2 separate regions of the Homo sapiens genome follow, and region 1 is linked to region 2. Evidence: promoter capture Hi-C in 16 types of primary human blood cells and fetal thymus (Javierre and others, 2016). All regions are on one chromosome and are shown on one strand. The core of a region is centred on a gene start or on the middle of the fragment in contact, and the rest is flanking DNA. Distances in the headings are between cores, read along the strand shown. Region 1 holds the start of IKBIP (IKBKB interacting protein). Region 2 holds the start of TCP11L2 (t-complex 11 like 2).

What was found. The method cuts DNA at HindIII sites, captures the fragments that hold promoters and counts their contacts. A CHiCAGO score of 5 or more calls a contact.
Region 1: the fragment with the promoter of IKBIP here is called in contact with the fragment with the promoter of TCP11L2 in region 2 in 2 of 17 cell types (naive CD8 T cells and total CD4 T cells); the score reaches 10.5 in naive CD8 T cells.

The regions. Positions count from the first base shown.
Region 1 is chr12:98,642,790-98,647,885 of GRCh38, reverse strand. IKBIP (IKBKB interacting protein) reads left to right here and starts at 3,098. Exons shown (of 3, transcript NM_153687.4): 1 at 3,098-3,363. The coding sequence starts at 3,185. It overlaps APAF1 (apoptotic peptidase activating factor 1), which reads right to left and starts at 2,596. Exons shown (of 27, transcript NM_181861.2): 1 at 2,051-2,596. RefSeq lists silencers at 2,192-2,401, 2,722-2,921 and enhancers at 2,498-3,125, 3,126-3,752, 3,753-4,380. The HindIII fragment of the contact is 4,349 bases long and covers 1,414-5,096 here.
Region 2 is chr12:106,299,990-106,305,562 of GRCh38, reverse strand. It overlaps TCP11L2 (t-complex 11 like 2), which reads right to left and starts at 2,830. Exons shown (of 10, transcript NM_152772.3): 1 at 2,622-2,830. RefSeq lists enhancers at 2,763-2,902, 2,913-2,992, 2,167-3,052 and a silencer at 3,073-3,192. The HindIII fragment of the contact is 6,335 bases long and covers 1-3,803 here.

The DNA of each region.
Region 1 (5,096 bases), core at 1,849-4,348, 7.7 Mb after region 2:
GGATGTTTCAGTGATGAACGCAACCTAAATGTCCATCATTCTGAATATAGATTTTAAAAATTAGGGTATGTATATAAAATGGAATATTATGCAGCCATTCAAAATTATGACACATATCTCCATGTATTGACATGGAAAGATGTTCATAATACTGTTGCTGAAAAAAAAAAAAAAAAAAAACAGAAACATGATCCCACATACAACACATAACGTGGGGGCCGGGCGCAGTGGCTCATGCCTGTAATCCCAGCACTTTGGGAGGCCGAGGCGGGTGGATCACGAGGTCAGGAATTCAAGACCAGCCTGGCCAAGATGGTGAAACCCTGTCTCTACTAAAAATACAAAATTAGCCAGATGCAGTGGCAGGTGCCTGTAATCCCAGCTGCTCGGGAGGCTGAAGCAAGAGAACTGCTTGAACCAGGGCGGCAGAGGTTGCAGTGAGCCGAGACCACTCTACTGTACTCCAGCCTGGGCGACAGACTGAGACTCTGTCTCAAAAAAAAAAACAAGTGTTGGTATCATATGAATATATATAGACGTTTAGAAGTTTATTCATCGAAATGTTTGAGTTACTTCTGAGTAGCAAAATTTGGGATTTCTCCCCCACCTTGTCTTATTTTTTTTTTTTTTTTAGTACAGACGGGGTTTCACCATGTTGACCAGGCTGGTCTTGAATTCCTGACCTCAGGTGATCCACCCGCCACAGCCTCCGAAAGTGCTGGGATTACACTTGTGAGCCCCACCATGCCCGGCCTCTACTGTCAATTTTTTTTAGCACACATTATCATTTCTTACAATAAAATACTTCCTTTTTTAATTAAGATTGTATAAAATAGTGATTACATTGAAGTCCTAATATTAAGAGACTTCTTGTTTTCCTTATCAAACATAAGAGTGAATAGAGCATTGTTACTATTGAGTATTAGTTCTCGTTCAAGGAGGATGTCAGCTCTAGGTCCTCCTTGCTAAACACATTTCCCACAAAGCAACAGGAAACACTTTCTGATGTGATTTCTCAGACCAGGAGGACATGAGGAAAGAATAACAGCCTTTATAGTAAAATACTTGACGTTTCTAGCAACTTTATTTCAAATATAATGCAAATTTTTCCATGGGCATAAAACCCAGTTCACAATATCTGCAAGTTTTCAAAACATTAACAGAACTTTACACAATGTATAGAGTGAAAGAGTCTAAACGGGTTTATCAATTCATTCATTCAATACACATTTGTGCCCCTCCCTATATGTCAGACACCAAGACTACAGAAAAGATTGAGTCATTTGCCTGAAATAATTCACAGTCTACTCAAAGAAGAAAAAGAGAGAGAGAGTGGGAATGTGAATGCCCGAAGTGCAAAAACAGAGCACAAGTAACTTGGAGCTCACAGAAGGGGGCAATAATTATCAAGCTTCAATGACTGTTTTTGAAGTCACCAAATGTAGCACTTGGAAAAACAGGGACGGACGTAGGGCATTTGCCTATGCTTGTCAAGGCTTACAAAATGCCCAGCAGGGGCACAAAACTGATAAAAAGTTATTGATTCGAATCAAAACTCTCATTTTTTAAAATGTTAATAACGTTTTTGTCCTCTTAAACATAAAATGTTCCTTAATTTATAGTAATGAAATTCGATGTGAAAAAACAAGAATGAATGAATTTTTTAGGTGATGTCCAATAGCTAAGCAAATAAGACACTCTGGTTTTCTGAAACTAATTTCCAATTTCACCTAGTCCTGTTAAACTAAAATATGCAAATCTTAAATACGTTTTAAAACTGCACAACTTATCTGAACTAAGTCTCAAAACCTTTTGTAACCCACAACAAAATGGAAAGCCAAAACTCTTCATGGACGTAAAACAGAAAACAGCGCACGTTTATCCACGAAAACCCCAAGTTTACTACTTCCTCATTACAGAATTTCTCTTCCTGGTACAGGAGCAGGATGGTTATCAAATATTCCATGTCCTCAAATTCTCAGTCCCTGAAATCAGCTACCAAGCCTCCAAAGAACCTGGCTCGGGGAGAAAAGCGAGGAGGTCAACTTACCCAAGCCTTTGCGCCTAGGTCTTAGTGGGGAGGGCGGCACTGCCGGGACAAGACTGGGAGACTCCAGGCCGGTGGAGGGAAACGGCAACAGGAGTTTTCCACCGGGAATTAGGGGTGCAGGGCTCTGTCTCGCCACATACCCTTCGCCCCGGGGCAGGTCCGGGCCTCACAGGCGCCTCCCCTGGATCTCTGCAGCCCCGGGGCGCACGAAGACCCCCAGGGACCTCCGAAGGTTGGCGAGGTGGGCGTCCACCCAACGCAGCCTGACCCCACAGTCCCGGAGCGCCGCGGTGAGGCCCGGCCCACGGGCCGCCCTCCGGTGGACCCCACTACTGGACACAAAGGGAGGAGGTCTTCCCGGCCTGTGGCGCCCTTCCCCCGACGGCGGCTGCACCCCGGAGGGAGCCCGGCGCTACTCCGGATGCCGCTGCGGCACCTCAAGTCTTCGCGGGTCGCCGACTGCCCAGACTCCCCACCTCTGGTTCTATCCCTTTTGCCCGGGATAGAGCAGTCACGTCCACTCGCTACCTCTTCTTCTCCGCCTCTGGACAGCGGAGCAGTCAAATCCCGCCGGATCCACCCAGCCCGGACGGCGCGCGCCCGCTTATGCAAATAAACACACCCCAAGCCCCAAGGGGCGGCCACCGCTGCCGCCGCGCACTCCTGCCACGGCTCATGCCCGCGCGCGTAGAAGTGCCCGCCTACCCCGCGGACGGGGCGTGGCTAAGCCTCAGGGACGCGCCGCGTTCCCACCAATGCCGGACTCGGGCAGCGGCGGCGCGCCCGACGTGGCGCGCGCGACCCCTTCGTCCTGCCCCTCCTCCTCGGGTCCCGTCGGCCTGCGCGCGCCCGGGAGTTTGAATTTCCTCGGATTTGGAGCAATATCGCAGTGGAAGGCGCTGTGGGTTGAGGTCGCCGCCCACCTCTCCTAGGGGAACTATGGAGCTGGCAGCTGAAAGACTCAGTGAAGCAACGAGGATGCCGGGGAGAGGGAAGGGGCTGGGCTCTGGGCGGTGCCAAGTCTGTGAGGGGGCGCGGTCACCGCCCAGGGTTCCCACGAACGCCAAGGCGGCCACGTCCTGCTCCCCCTGGTGAAGAAGCTGCCCTGGGCTTGTCGTCCTAGGGTCTCCAGACATGTCTGAGGTGAAGAGCCGGAAGAAGTCGGGGCCCAAGGGAGCCCCTGCTGCGGAGCCCGGGAAGCGGAGCGAGGGCGGGAAGACCCCCGTGGCCCGGAGCAGCGGAGGCGGGGGCTGGGCAGACCCCCGAACGTGCCTGAGCCTGCTGTCGCTGGGGACGTGCCTGGGCCTGGCCTGGTAAGTGGACGCGAGGCTGCCTGGGCCGGCCTCCTGTGGGCCCCCTGCTGTTTGGGCTCCCACCCGGCTCAACATCCAGCCGGAGGTGATCCAACCTCCCAGACCTGGGCCTTCTGTGCCTCTGTCTTGACCCCAAAGGAAGGAAACAGCCCAGCCTTGTTTTTCCCTTTCGGGCGTTTCTTGTATCTCATTTCCCCCCGTGCTGGTAGCATGCCCCTATCGCTCAGAAGGAGTTGAGGCTAAGGTTTGGGAACGAGCCATTTGTTAAGAGCTGCAGATTCGGCCACGCTTTCTGAAGCTCCCGCTACACGTCAGAAGCGTTCACGTTGTTATAAACCGTTACTTCCTGTCCGCTGTGCCCCATTCCGGGACACATCTGCCCCACCCTACTCACCCCATAAATACCTAATGGAAATACTTGCAACCTTAAAACAGATCATTATGTTTGGAGACCGAGGCAGGTGGATCACTTGAGGTCAGGAGTTCGAGACTAGCCTGGCCAACATGGTGAAACCCCATCTCTACCAAAAATACGAATAATCAGCCGGGCGTGGTGGCGGGCGCCTGTAGTCCCAGTTCCTCCGGAGGCTGAGGCAGGAGAATCGCTTGAACCCGGGAGGCGGAGGTTGCTATGAGCCAAGATCGCATCACTGCACTCCAGCCTGGGCGACCGAGCGAGACTCCGTCTCAAAAAAAAAAAAAAAAGAAAACCATATCATTATGCTCCCAAAGGAGCAAACGTTATAGTAGCAGAGCTTGGAGGAGTGCTCATATTTTGATCACCGTGCATGCATTATGAATTTAAGGTCTTTTATTAAGTAAGTTACAGATTGAATATGGTAAAGCTACAAAAACATAGCACTTGTGTTCACTTAAAACTAACCAGTTGCAGTTTTAAAATCAGGTAAATGGCGATATATTGGTGTCATTAGGAAAAATGAATATTAGAAATAACCTTAAAACCAACTCGTAAAAAAAGAAAAAAGAAAAAAACCAACTTGTGAATTTTATTTTCCCAGCCTTTTTTTTTCTGGCGGGAGGAGGGAATAGCCCATTTCATTTTAATAAGATTGGCATCTTAATAGAATTTTTCTCCATTTTTCATTCATGTGTAAAGTTATTTAGTAAGACTGTTGTTAATCTTCCAGAGTGATAGAATTTTAGAAGAGACCCTGGACATCTAGACATTTTTTATGCTACTACATATGGAATTATACTTTACTGGTGACTCATCCCAAATAGTGTATTTTTCAGAGTTAAAAGATTTGTTACGGCTGGGCGCGGTGGCTCACACCTGTAATCCCAGCACTTTGGGAGGCCGAGGTGGGCAGATCATGAGGTCAGGAGTTCAAGACCAGGCTGGCCAACATGGTGAAACCCTGTCTCTACAAAAAATACAAAAATTAGCCAGGCTTGGTGGCACAAACCTGCAATCCCAGCTATTCAGGAGGCTGAGGCAGGAGAATCACTCGAAATGGGGAGGTGGAGGTTGCAGTGAGCTGGGATCGTGCCATTGCACTCCAGCCTGGGCAACAGAGCGAGACTCCATCTCAAAAAACAAACAAACAAAATTTTGTCACAATAAAGTGATTAAACGCCCTCTTCAAAAACAATAGAATTGTCAGCCTGCCGGCAGTGGCTCATGCCTGTACTCCCAGCACTTTGGGAGGCCAAGGTGGGTGGATCACCTGAGGTCAGGAGTTTGAGACCAGCCTGGCCAACATAGCAAAACC
Region 2 (5,573 bases), core at 1,581-4,080:
TCACTCACATTACTCATATTCCCATTACGCAGTCACTTACAGTACTACACTTGTGTGCATATCTGTCTCCCACTAGATTTTAAGCTGCTGGTGGAAGCGATGACTCTCCTCTCCAATTCCCAGTGCCTACTTCAGTGCATTTGCAAGGCACCAAAAATTCAAACTAGCAAAGACCCACAGTTCCAGGAGGTTAAAGAAACTCACGTGTAGCAAATAACAACAATTACAGCTAACAGTAATTGAGTGCTTATTATTGAGGTAGTAATAAGCACTCAATAACTGTTCTATGATAAGTTCTTTATATATTTTATCTCCTTGAATCCTTATTATAACCTTGTTAGCTAATGTATCAGTATTATCCCCATTTTATAATAAGATCCTGAGGCCCAGAGAGGTTGCGTTACTTGCCCAAGGGTTCACAGCAGTGTAGAGGCACAACTCAAATCCAGGAAGCGGATCCCTAAAACCCATGCTCTCTACCACTCCAGTTTGGCTGGAGAAAATTTGGTGTGCTGCTCATTCTTTCCACTCCCACTCTGCCAAATCCATCTACCCATCACCCTGTGGACACTTGCACATGTGGTAGCAAGCTGATCTTATCCTGGTATGGCTGCTCAAGTGCTATTCTGTGAAGGGCATCACTGAAGGAGTACGTCACCCAAAACAATTCTTCACCACCCCGCTACAGTGACAGAAAATCCTCTAGGAGGGAGCCATTCTTTATGCACCGCAAAATCCCTAGTTAGACCCCACGTATTAGCAAAAAGGTTAACTGCTTACAGTCATAAACATTTTGGAGTGAAATATTCAGATTACCCAGCAGGGCCTTGAGGAATTGAACCCATCCAGTTAAGGTTAGCTCACGCAAAAAAGAAATTTCAAGAAACTTCTAGTGTGTACCATCCTTCAACACTAGATCGAGGTCAGCTGCAAGGACAAGCCTTCACATATGTGTAGTAAAGGGAAGGGAGTCAGAGGACTAAGTCTGGGCTCTAAAGAAAAAAATTGCAGATGATGTGAAAAATTTCCATCTTCTGCAAAATGCTGCTTTAGAATCAGTCTTAAATAGCAGCACTAAAGTTATTCATCCACAGCAAAGCAAAAACCATAGAGCAGAGGGATAGGGGCCCATACCATTCATCTAGACAATACTGGTCTTCATCAAGTTAGAACCAACAAAGAGCTAGATAAAAGCCAACAAGCCAGTCACTGTCCACAAAGCAGATGTTCACGTTACACGTGGCATTACAGCATCAGGGAGAAGGATTCCTGGCACTTTTCACATTTGAAAGCACTCCTCCCACACTTGCTGGTCTGTTTTGTTTTAATACCTGTGCTTCCCCCTCTGGGGCCCTCAACCTCTCACAAAATGGCATTGAAGCTGCTTCCACACATGACTGGGTATCTTCGGCCCTGGGCCTCTTCAAATCAGGCAACTTCCACTGGCTGTCAGGGTGATGCATGAAATCCCTAGAGAAGAGAGGAAAAGGACCACGGCAGGGAGCCTCCTCAAGTGGGAACCACTGAGATTAACTCATTATCCGTTGGCAGGTAAGAAGAGCAAAGTCCCTGACTGGGCTGGTGACCATGGGTGCTGAGACACCCACTGGGGACAAGGACAACTTGTCCAGTTTCTTCACAGTTAAGGTAGCAGGACAACCATCTAAGATTTCCCAAACTTAAGTCGTTTGAGTGCCACTCTTCATGACTATTTCTACGTCTCCCTCCTTACCTTTACTATAATTTAGTAACCGCGTCTCTATCTTGACTAGATTTTTGCATTTAAATATATTTATTTTAAAAGGAAACTCTATCATTGTGAAACTGCTTACTTAATGGAACAGATTTTCTTAATAGTAACGAAAACAAGTAACTATGTTCATCCATATGCCACCTCAAATCATTGCTATTACCCCCAGTGGTGCCACCTACAGTAGCAGCTTTGGGAAGCACAAGCAACACCTGAGGGTTCAGCGTTCGAGCCCAGGCCCAATCGGCTTTTCTCCACCTCTTCCCCTTAACCAAAGGTCCCGGCAAGGGGACGCAGCAGCAGTCTGCACGACCTCACCCACGTCCTCTGGCCGCCCCTCCCCTCCAGCAGCACCAGGTTTCCTGTCAAAACAAACCCTTGGGGGAGGGGACGGCGGAGGCAGAGCTGAGTGCCGGGGAAACCACGGCAACAAATCCCAAACACACGCTGCCGGGCCCGCCCTGCCTCTACCCTGGCTCAGTTCCCTACTCCAGCCCGGCCGAGGAGTGTGGGGGAAGGGGGTGCCCTGGGCCCCTGATGGCGGGATGCCGCTGGTACCTGTCCAGCAGGATTTAAACAGCGGCGAAGCGGCCTCCGAGGCCCGAAGTCCGTGTCCACCCCGACACGCGGGGCGGCCACTCGGTGCCCCGCTCCCCGCTCCCACGCGGGACGGCAGTTCGAGGTCAAACAAGGGGACGCGGAGTGGGAAGACATGAACTAGGAGCCGAGCTTGATGGCCCCTGACCCCGCCTTCCCAGGATGGAGTTCCGAGATAGGGCAGGGGAGCCTTCGGGCTGCAGCGGTGTCCCCTCCGTTGGACCTGGCCGGTCACCTCCGAGCCGGCAACGCCTCCCCCGTGATGGATACGCACCGGGTCCAGCACGTAGACAAGAGGAGAACGGCGACGGAGTGACCCCGGGTCAGGGCTCTCTGGGCGTCCCCTCACCGAGCACAGCACAGTCACCTCGAAAACTCACCAGCCCAACAAACCCCCCCAGCCCCAGTGTCCCCCCCAACGCGGTATTTAAAGGGCCCTGAGGGACTCTAGGGAGGCAGCCACGGCGCGGCCATCACAAAACCGGATAGCGGGGGGACGACGGCGCGACGGGGCAAGGGGATCCAGGGCCCTTCAGTCTCCGAAAGCCGAGCGCTCACAGACTGAACCTATTAGAGAAACAGTCTTCGTCAGTTTGAACCAGAGAGGCCGAGAACAGCTCGGATGGGAGGGTGTTTCGGATGCGAGAGGGCACGGTTCCCCCGCGCGGCGAGTGGTGCGGTCCGGGCTGCCGGGGGCGGGGTGAGAAGTGTTTACGGAACTGAGGCCGCCGAGCCGACGGGAGCGCCCGGCGTTGGGGGCGGGGCCTGCCAGGGCACTGGGGGCGGGGCCGAGTGGGGGAGCGGGGGCTGAGCGGGGGCTGAGCGGGGGCTGAGCGGGGGCTGAGCGGGGGCTGAGCGGGGGCTGAGCGGGGGCTGAGCGGGGGCTGAGCGGGGGGAGCGGGGGCTGAGCGGGGCTCTGGGGAGGTGGGCGAAGCCGCGGGCCAAGCCTCCAGTGGAGTGCCGGACAGATCCCCTGGGCTTCCAGGCGCACTGGCGTGGACCACACTGCGAGCTCCCGGCCGCGCGTGGAACATTGAGTGCCCGCACACCCCTGTCTAGACGGGGCAATCGGAACTGGGTGCCCACCAACACACTGTCCACACTTACAGAGACAACCCAACCAACAACGCTGCTGGTGGGCTTTCCCACGCACGTCAGCCACTAACCGGGTCATCTCCAGTTGCGTCTACACCTCCACATAAACACGGGTCTAGATTTGCACCTGCACGGGACGATTAGCTCCTTGGAGTCACACCCATCCAGGCCCTCTGAAGACTTGGCGTGCGTGCAAAAGATAAAGCGTCTTACTTCCTCTAGGGTTCTTGGCAGCACCTATCTCCGGGAGAAGTTTCCACCTTGGTTAATGTAAATAACCAGTCCCAGGAGGGCTCTGTGCCGTCTGGCCTGCTGCTCAGCTCCTGCTGTGGGCGTGCTTGAGGGTGTAGAGAAACAAGCTTCCCCCAACTGTTCACATCAAAACTATGCCTTCTGCCAGGTGTAAATCGGTGCTGTATTACTTGGGAAATAGTTTCATGCAGGAACTACTTACATGAAGTTTGTATAGACTAAAGTATTTCTGTTTAGTGCCGAAATTATGTCTGGATTGTGGAGGCAGATTGGCCACCACCGTTCAAAAACAACAACAACAAACAACAGGCAACATTTTAAAGCAGGGTAGAAAGTCAGTTGTTCAGTGGTTACAACACAGACTCCTCTATGGTTCCAGTCCTGGCTCTGACATTCACTATCCATGAGATCTTGGTCTCTGGGGATAACAATGATAGCTATTTCCTTGGGTTATTTTGAGGATAAAGTGAAATAAAGCATGTGAAGTGCTTAGCAGGGTGCACAGTAAGCACTCTAAGTATTAGTTATTGAAATTCTTTGGCAAACCACTGTGGCCAAACTTAGCTGGTGATCTGTATAAATTTGTATCTGTGCCTCCTTTTGCCACTTTCCTCTCTTCTCCTAAAATATACAACCTAATAATACAGGTTAAGAGATTAAATAGAAGGTGCTGTCCCCACCTGAGTTCTTCCCTACAAACATGCTCTTATTTGTGTCATTCGTTGGATAAGTAATCAGAATGACAGAAGCCTCCAATTTCAATTCCTGCCAAATGACAACCACCACACAACTGCCATCACCACCCTAAAAACTCCACAATAGAAAGATGAACACCCAAATCCCCCAAACTTCTGGTAATTCTGTGACAATGACACATGGCAACATTACTTCCTTTGTTAGCTTTGTAAGGATTTAAGTATTGTTTTGAGCTATGACATAAGTTGGAGCAGGTGACCATGAGTCAGGGTAGTTGTCCTTTATACTGGAGTGACCAGCTGCCTGATCCTAGGCATGACACTTCTTTTAAAGTTCAGATATGTAGCTCTCAAAGCCACCAGGAAAGCAGCTTTTGTCAAAGCAAGTTCAACTGTAACATCAGAGAACCAAGCTGAGATAAGAAAAGATGCTGGAAATACTATCTTCTGTTACTTTAATGTTAAATAACTTGCTATCTGAAAACCCTTCTGTGAATTACCTGACCAACTGCCCTTGGCCTGACTTGTGTATAAAAGCACTTTGGGCCAGGCACGGTGGCTCATGCCTGTAATCCAAGCACTTTGGGAGGCCGAGGCAGGTGGATCACAAGGTCAGGAGATCGAGACCATCCTGGCTAACACGGTGAAACCCCGTCTCTACTAAAAATACAAAAAAATTAGCTGGGCGTGGTGGCACGCACCTGTAATCCCAGCTACTCTGGAAGCTGAGGCAGGAGAATCGCTTGAACCTGGGAGGTGGAGGTTGCAGTGAGCCGAGATCACGCCACTTTACTCCGGCCTGGGCGACAGAGCGAGACTCCATCTCAAAACAAAACAAAACAAAAACAACACTTTGAAAAAATGGAGTGCTGTAAAATATAAGGCAGTTCCCTCAAAAATGAGCCTTGTATCACATTGTTGCTCAGAGGGCTCAGACAGTCATAACACAAAATCTTCCCTGCTCAGGTTATGTTTATGGCTTTCTGAGGAAAAAAAAAAAACAACAAAATCTGAAAAGGCAACCTCTTTAGAAGTAAAATAATTAGCATTTTATTTGAAGAAGACATATTATTACACCTAGTTTTTCTAACTTACCTTTTTGAACCACTTAGAGAACTCACAGTAATACAGTTTTTTTTTCTCCCTGTAAATTACACGGTAGACTAAATGTGGTCTATCACTCT